Linked DNA regions of Homo sapiens: region 1 is linked to region 2. Evidence: promoter capture Hi-C in human tissues and cell types (Jung and others, 2019). All regions are on one chromosome and are shown on one strand. The core of a region is centred on a gene start or on the middle of the fragment in contact, and the rest is flanking DNA. Distances in the headings are between cores, read along the strand shown. Region 1 overlaps PRDM11 (PR/SET domain 11). Region 2 holds the start of TP53I11 (tumor protein p53 inducible protein 11).

Region 1 (3,080 bases), core at 427-2,926, 240 kb before region 2:
CCTGGCCAACATGGAGAAACCCCGTCTCTACTAAAAATACAAAATTAGCTGGATGTGGTGGCGCATGCCTGTAATCCCAGCTACTAGGGAGGCTGAGGCAGGAGAATTGCTTGAACCCAGGAGGCAGAGGTTGCGGTGAGCTGAGATCGTACCACTGCACTCCAGCCTGGGTAACGAGAGCAAAACTCCATCTCAAACAAACAAAAAAACAAACAAACAAAAAATCCCATGTTGGCTTCCTCTGTCTTCTGCCTCTTTACCAAACCACATGGCTGCGCAGCACCCCCAAATGCCTCGTGCCAGCAGCATGGTTCCTGGCCTGCAGTGTCTGAGGGTAGCCTGGGTGATCTTGGCAATGAATCACAGCATTTATAATTTCCAATAGGATGAAAAAGCAGAGCAAGGGGCATGTCTTTCCTAGACAGGCAGAGGTGAGTGTCCAACTCCTGCCAAGTCAGCCAGGCCACGAAGGAGAGTTGTGGAGTGGAAATGGCCATTCGGTCCATTATGACCCAGGCCCATGCCTTGTACCACTCTGCCCAAAGTCAGGCCAGCTTTCCTCCAGGTTAAGCGAAGACAAAGAGGGAACTTGTGCTGGGCAGGAAGAATGAGTAGAATAGAGTCTACCCAGGCAAGGAGGTAAGAAGAGGCGTGCTAAGTAAGGGAGGCTAGAGGGCCAAGAGGCGGAATGAGAGGGTAGGTTCTGGAGTCAGACTGCACAGGTTTGAACCCCAGCTCAGTGACTCACCAGCTGTTTAGCTTTGTGCAGAATGACTCATCCTCTCCAGGCCTCAGTTTTCTCAGCTGTGCAATGGATGGAATAATACCTATGTCACAGGAGCGTTGTTAGGATCAGATGAGATTATGCTATAAAGCACTGAGCACAGACCCAGACACATAGTAAGTGCTCAATAAACATTAACAGCTATGCTTGTCATGACCACCACCATCATTTCTACAGAGTAGAGTGCATATACTGAGGGAGGGAGTGTGGAGGGAAATGTGTTGTGCTGAATGGGGGCCAGAGCTTTTGCAGGCAGGCAGAAGGTCCAAAGAAGATGATATCCAGTATGGCTTTGGGACAGGACTTGACAAATGAGGGCAGTTTATTTAGGATATGGGGCTTCTAGATCTTGGTCCAAAAATCAGCACCACTGTTCACCCCACCTTCCCCGTACTCTCCCACCATTTGGCCTACCCATCAGCAGAGCAGGCAGGGCCGTTCTTCACGCCTGCTTTTCCCCAGTGGAGGCCAAAAACCCATGCCCAACACACACATACACACACACACACACACACACACACACACACACGAACTTTTCTTGAGCCACTTTAAGCATCTGGTGGCTCTAGGCCTTCAATGTCTCTCACCTCTTGGGTTCCCAAAGGTCAAAGCCCCCATATGGCCTTGCAGCCTCTAACCACTGCCTCCCTGTGCCCATCTGCTGGCTGCTGGCTGCTGGCTGCTGGCTGCAGCTAAGGCCCTAGGAAGAAACCTCAGAGGGAATAACCTCCAGGCCACCAGTCCCACCTCCTGAACTGGGGCCACGCCTACTCGTGACTGGTGGAGCTAGTCTAGAACCAGGTTGCAAACACCAGGGCCTTCTATTCCTCCTTTCTTCTCACCGTAGACCTGTGCCAGGCAGCCAACCTGGGAAAGTTCATCTGCTTTAAAGATTCTCAACTTTCCATGGCTGGGCTGTCCCAAGGTACAGACTCTAGCAGCTGCAGAAAGGGATCCTAATAGCCATTCCTTGGGCACAGTCTTAGATTTTTTCTCCTGCAATTTTCCAATAGGCTGTGAAGCCATAGGCTTCCTCTGTTGAACGTCTATCCATCCTTCAAGACAAGATCCATCTCCAATCTGCCCTGTTGAAACCAATCCCCCTCTCCCTACTGCTACAGCCCTCTGCAGCACTGCGATCACCAAGCAATACTCTGCCTCTGTATTACTTGGTTGGGAATAAGCTTCCTCCCCTCCTATCCACCATGGCCCCTGCTCCTCATAACTGAACCACAGGCTCCATAAGAACAGACAGCAAACCTCACGCAGCCCTGTTATCCCCAGAGCTCCCTGCTCAGGACCTAGTGCTCTGGAGTTGCTCTGTGTATGTGAGGTTGGGTTGAACCTGGACACATAACCAAAACTGGCTCAGGGTAGCTATTAACTGCTCCACCCCATTAGCAATGTCTCCCAATAAGGGAAGTCCTCACATGGTGGAGGGACACTATCTTTGAAGGAACCCAAGGTCTACTGTGGACCAGCTGTGGGAGTCCTGTGTTTCCTCGTCAGAACAAGAGGGGCAGCAACCCCCACCCTATGGACTGTTTCGAGGAAGAGTATGAGATGCCAGAGGTGTCCAGTATGCACCTGGCATATAATAATTGCTCAGTGGGCAACCAGACTTTTAAAACAAGCCATGCACCCTTGCTAGTTCCCTTTCCTCACCTCCCACTGACACCTTAATCCATGGCAATCTGGCTTCCGCCCATGAGACTGCTCCTGCCAAGGGGGCCAAGGAGACTTCCTACTGTCTCCTCCTACTGCTCCATGCCTCCTCAACTCCTCTCCCTCCAAGGATTCCTCAAACTCATATTCCAAAGGAAATGCCTCTTCTCTCCTCCCCAAGCACCTTTTCTGTAGGAAATGCCCTCCCTTCTCCGGGCTTCAGCTGCATTAATTTATATACTTAGTTTTCCCTGTCATCCCAGCATCTCTCTACTGCAGAGCCACACACACCAGAGTGCTCTGGACAGCTCCCCTGAGCATCTCACGGGCACCAGGAACTCTACTCATCCCAAGCAGAACTCACCTTCTCTGATCTCCTCGATTTCAGGCCACCTCAATCCACCTCCCTGCATATTTTAGTAGATGTCCCCCCACAAACATAAAAGCCTCCTATATGAGTTCCCTGTTGCTCCTGTAATAAATTGCCAATAAACTGCCAAAACCACAGTGGCTTAAAACAACACACATGTATTACCTTATAGTTCTAGAGGTCAGAAGTCCTACAATCAAGGTGTTGGCAGGGCCACATTCTTTCAGGAAGCTCTGGGAATTAATGTGTTTCTTTGACTTT
Region 2 (2,978 bases), core at 162-2,661:
CCTGCATGGCACAGAGTCCATGCACAGTAAACATGAGCAGCTCCTATTAACTCTAAATCTCTACAGCAACCATAGCCGGTTCTTACTATTGGTTGCTCTAGGTGACTTACTTTGTCCAAGGCCACACAGGCACTAAAAGGCAGAGTCAGGATTTGAACCTAGGTGATCTGGTTCCAGAGCCTGCTCTATTAACCGTTAAGGAACTGGTGCAGACAGAACCGAGACCTGGAGTCAGAATGCCCACCTAGCTAGATGCCTGAGGCAGCCACTCACCTCTTTCTGTCTTATTTACTTGTGAAATGGAGCATGTCATCAGCCTTGCCTTCCTTTTCCCGCAGCCCCCCACCCCGGTTCCTGGCCCACTGTGACCATCAGATCAGATGAAAGAGATCCAGGCATTTCTCTAAGGAGAGCACAGGGTGGTGGGGGTTGGGGTGGGAGAGAGCACATTATTTTCCCACCATAAGGGGTTGAAGGAGCCCAGAATTTGGGGGTGGGGCCTTGTCTGTAGGAGCCTGGTTCTCTCAGGTTGACACGCCACCAGAGAGCCTCCATGACCCCCAACCCTCATCCTCACCCCAGCCCCCCATAGGATGTGTAGAGACAAAAGGTTTGACAACTGTAGCGCCAACAAGCGTCCTAGAGCCCCAGATAAGATCCTAGCCTCCTGACAGCGCAACTGACAGCAGCATCTCTGAGGCTGGATTTTAGGGTGGAGTATGAAGAAGGTGGCCGTAGTGACAGTGGGGTCATGTTATTTGGCCAAGTCACACCAAGCAGGGAGAGAGAAGGGTGGGCCTAGGCTGGAAGCCTGAAGGCTGAGTGAACTCAAACTTTAACGACCATGGCCTGTAAAATGGGACTAAGCACAGCGCCCTTATGGGTTGCTGTGAAAATCAAATGAGTTAATACTTGTAACTCCTTTAGCATATGGTGTCTGGCATCAGAGAGTGCGCAGCAAACGGTGACTATTGTCGTGACTGTGTTATTACACACTTGGGTATCACCGCCAGCCAAAGCAGTCCCTTCCATTTCAGGCACCGGCCTGGGCCCGGGAGACACCGCAAGGCTATTTAAGATGGTGTGGTTTGCCCATCTACGTTGATCGTCCCAAGAAAGGGGCACCGTCTGCAGAACTTGCCAGGAAAGTCATCCTGGGCGGCGCGGGCCACGCCAGGGTCTCCCCGCGCGGCTTCCTCCCCCGGCGCCTTCTCTCGGGCGCGCGTGCGCCCCCTGCAGGCGGCCCCCGGGAGAGCCTCGCGGGGGAGCCGGGAGCCTGGTTTCCCCGCCAACCCCCATCCCGCCCGCCCCGGCGGCCACCCTGGGGGCGAGGCAGCCCGGCGCGTGGGAGGGGACGGCGCGCCATTGGCTTGTGCGCGGAACCGAGAGGAGGGACCAGCGCGGGCCGCCAGACTCGGTAAGCCCCGGCCGCGCAGGGCGCCGCGCGCAGTCCAGCCGGCCCGGCCCTGCCCTGCCCTGCCCTGTCCTGCCCTGCCCTGCCCTGCCCTGCCCTGCACTGCCCGGCCCGGCACGGGCGGCGCGATGTGAGGCGTCCGAGCCCGGAGCCTCCGCCTGGCATCAGCTCCACGTAGCCCAGCGCCGGCACGCGCGAGGCCCGTAAGTTCTGCTCCCCGCCGCCGCTTCCGAGCCGCGGACTTTCCCCTCCCGCCGCCCGCCGCCTGCGCAGCGCAACCCAGCGGGGCTCCTGCGGCCGACGGGACCGCAGAGGGGCGGCCGGGACCCCGCGCGCGCTAACCGGGCGCCCCGGGACATCTCGGCACCCGCTGAGCCCGCTGGGACCCCAGGGGGTCGCCTCCCCAGCTCCCCAAGGCGCCGTCCCGCAGCCCCTTCCGTCTCCCCTGCGCGCTCTCCCCTCGCCGCCCCTCCCTCTGACTCGGTTTCCCCTCTCCCCCGGCTCCGCGGTCGCCCTCCTCCTGGACTGCTTATTTCGTCCTCGGCCACTGCCTCTCGGGCTCGAGCTTTCTGCTTCAGAGCAGGAGAGAAACGGAGCGAAAGCAGTTTCTGTCTCCCCGGGGTCTGACTCGGTCCCCCGCGCTCGGTTCTCTGTCCCCTCCCCCTCCCGCCATTGTTCCCGGCAGGAGGAGTGCGCGGCGCAAACTTGCGAGTTCCCCCAGTCTTTGCCCCCGCAGGGCCGCGGACGGAGGTGGTGGCGGAGTTCCCGCTGCCCACAAGTCTGGCCCGACCTTCTGGGGTGGGGGCCTGGGGGCAGGGGCCCTGGGCCGGAGAACCCGGGGCCGCCTAACGGCTCGGAGCTCACCGCCGGGGGACACCGGCGCTGAGGCCTGGGTCTCAGAAAGTGGGTGAGTGTCTGGAGCGGGGACATCAGGGACAGATTGCAGGGGGAGGGGCGAGGCTGAGAGAGTCCCCCGTCCCCAGGCTGGAAAGGGGCGGGCAGAAACCCAGGCCGCGCCTTAGCCCAGTTAGGGGGTGGGTAGGGGACGCACAGGTGGAGACGCCCCCCACTCTCCCCAAAGTCGCGCGATCTGCAGGAAGGGTACAGTGTGGGGCCACTGGCCGGGCGCTGGGTGGGTTAGGGCCCCTGCCGTGGGCAGAACACTCGCACCTACCCGGGGGAGGCTGTGTGGAGGAAGGGCCAGAACGCCGCGCCCACCCCGGCGCGCCCCGCTGGGCGGGGCGGGGCGGGGCGCTCGCCTTGGGTCCCCTCGCTCTACCTTCCTTCGCCCTGACCCAGTCTCGGGCTTCCGCCTCTTCCTGGAGCCCGGGGGGAGTGGGTTTCTCCGCCGGAGAGATGGAGGCTGGGGCAAGAGCAGCGCGGAGGCCAAGAACCCCCAGGCTCCTCCAAAGCCCAGAGCGGCTGGCCAAGGCCCCCTCACCGCCCCACTACCCTGCACTTCCTGATTGGTTTCTTTCAAACAAACTTCTTGACGGGGCGGGCCTGCGGGGAGAAGTCACCGGGGCTGCCCACCCCAACTATGTGGTCCCTTGGACCTCCACCC

Evidence for each region. Contacts are between HindIII fragments. The study calls those that stand out against the background at their distance.
Region 1: a contact is called between a fragment that was not itself captured here and the fragment with the promoter of TP53I11 in region 2, in 2 of the 25 tissues and cell types used here (heart left ventricle and thymus).

The regions. Positions count from the first base shown.
Region 1 is chr11:45,186,033-45,189,112 of GRCh38, reverse strand. The region is part of intron 4 of PRDM11 (PR/SET domain 11); the gene reads right to left. Among named protein-coding and RNA genes, the nearest start is that of PRDM11, 41 kb to the right of the region's middle. The HindIII fragment of the contact is 7,766 bases long and covers 1-3,080 here.
Region 2 is chr11:44,949,316-44,952,293 of GRCh38, reverse strand. TP53I11 (tumor protein p53 inducible protein 11) reads left to right here and starts at 1,411. Exons shown (of 7, transcript NM_006034.5): 1 at 1,411-1,617. RefSeq lists silencers at 1,222-1,481, 1,512-1,641. The HindIII fragment of the contact is 16,895 bases long and covers 1-2,978 here.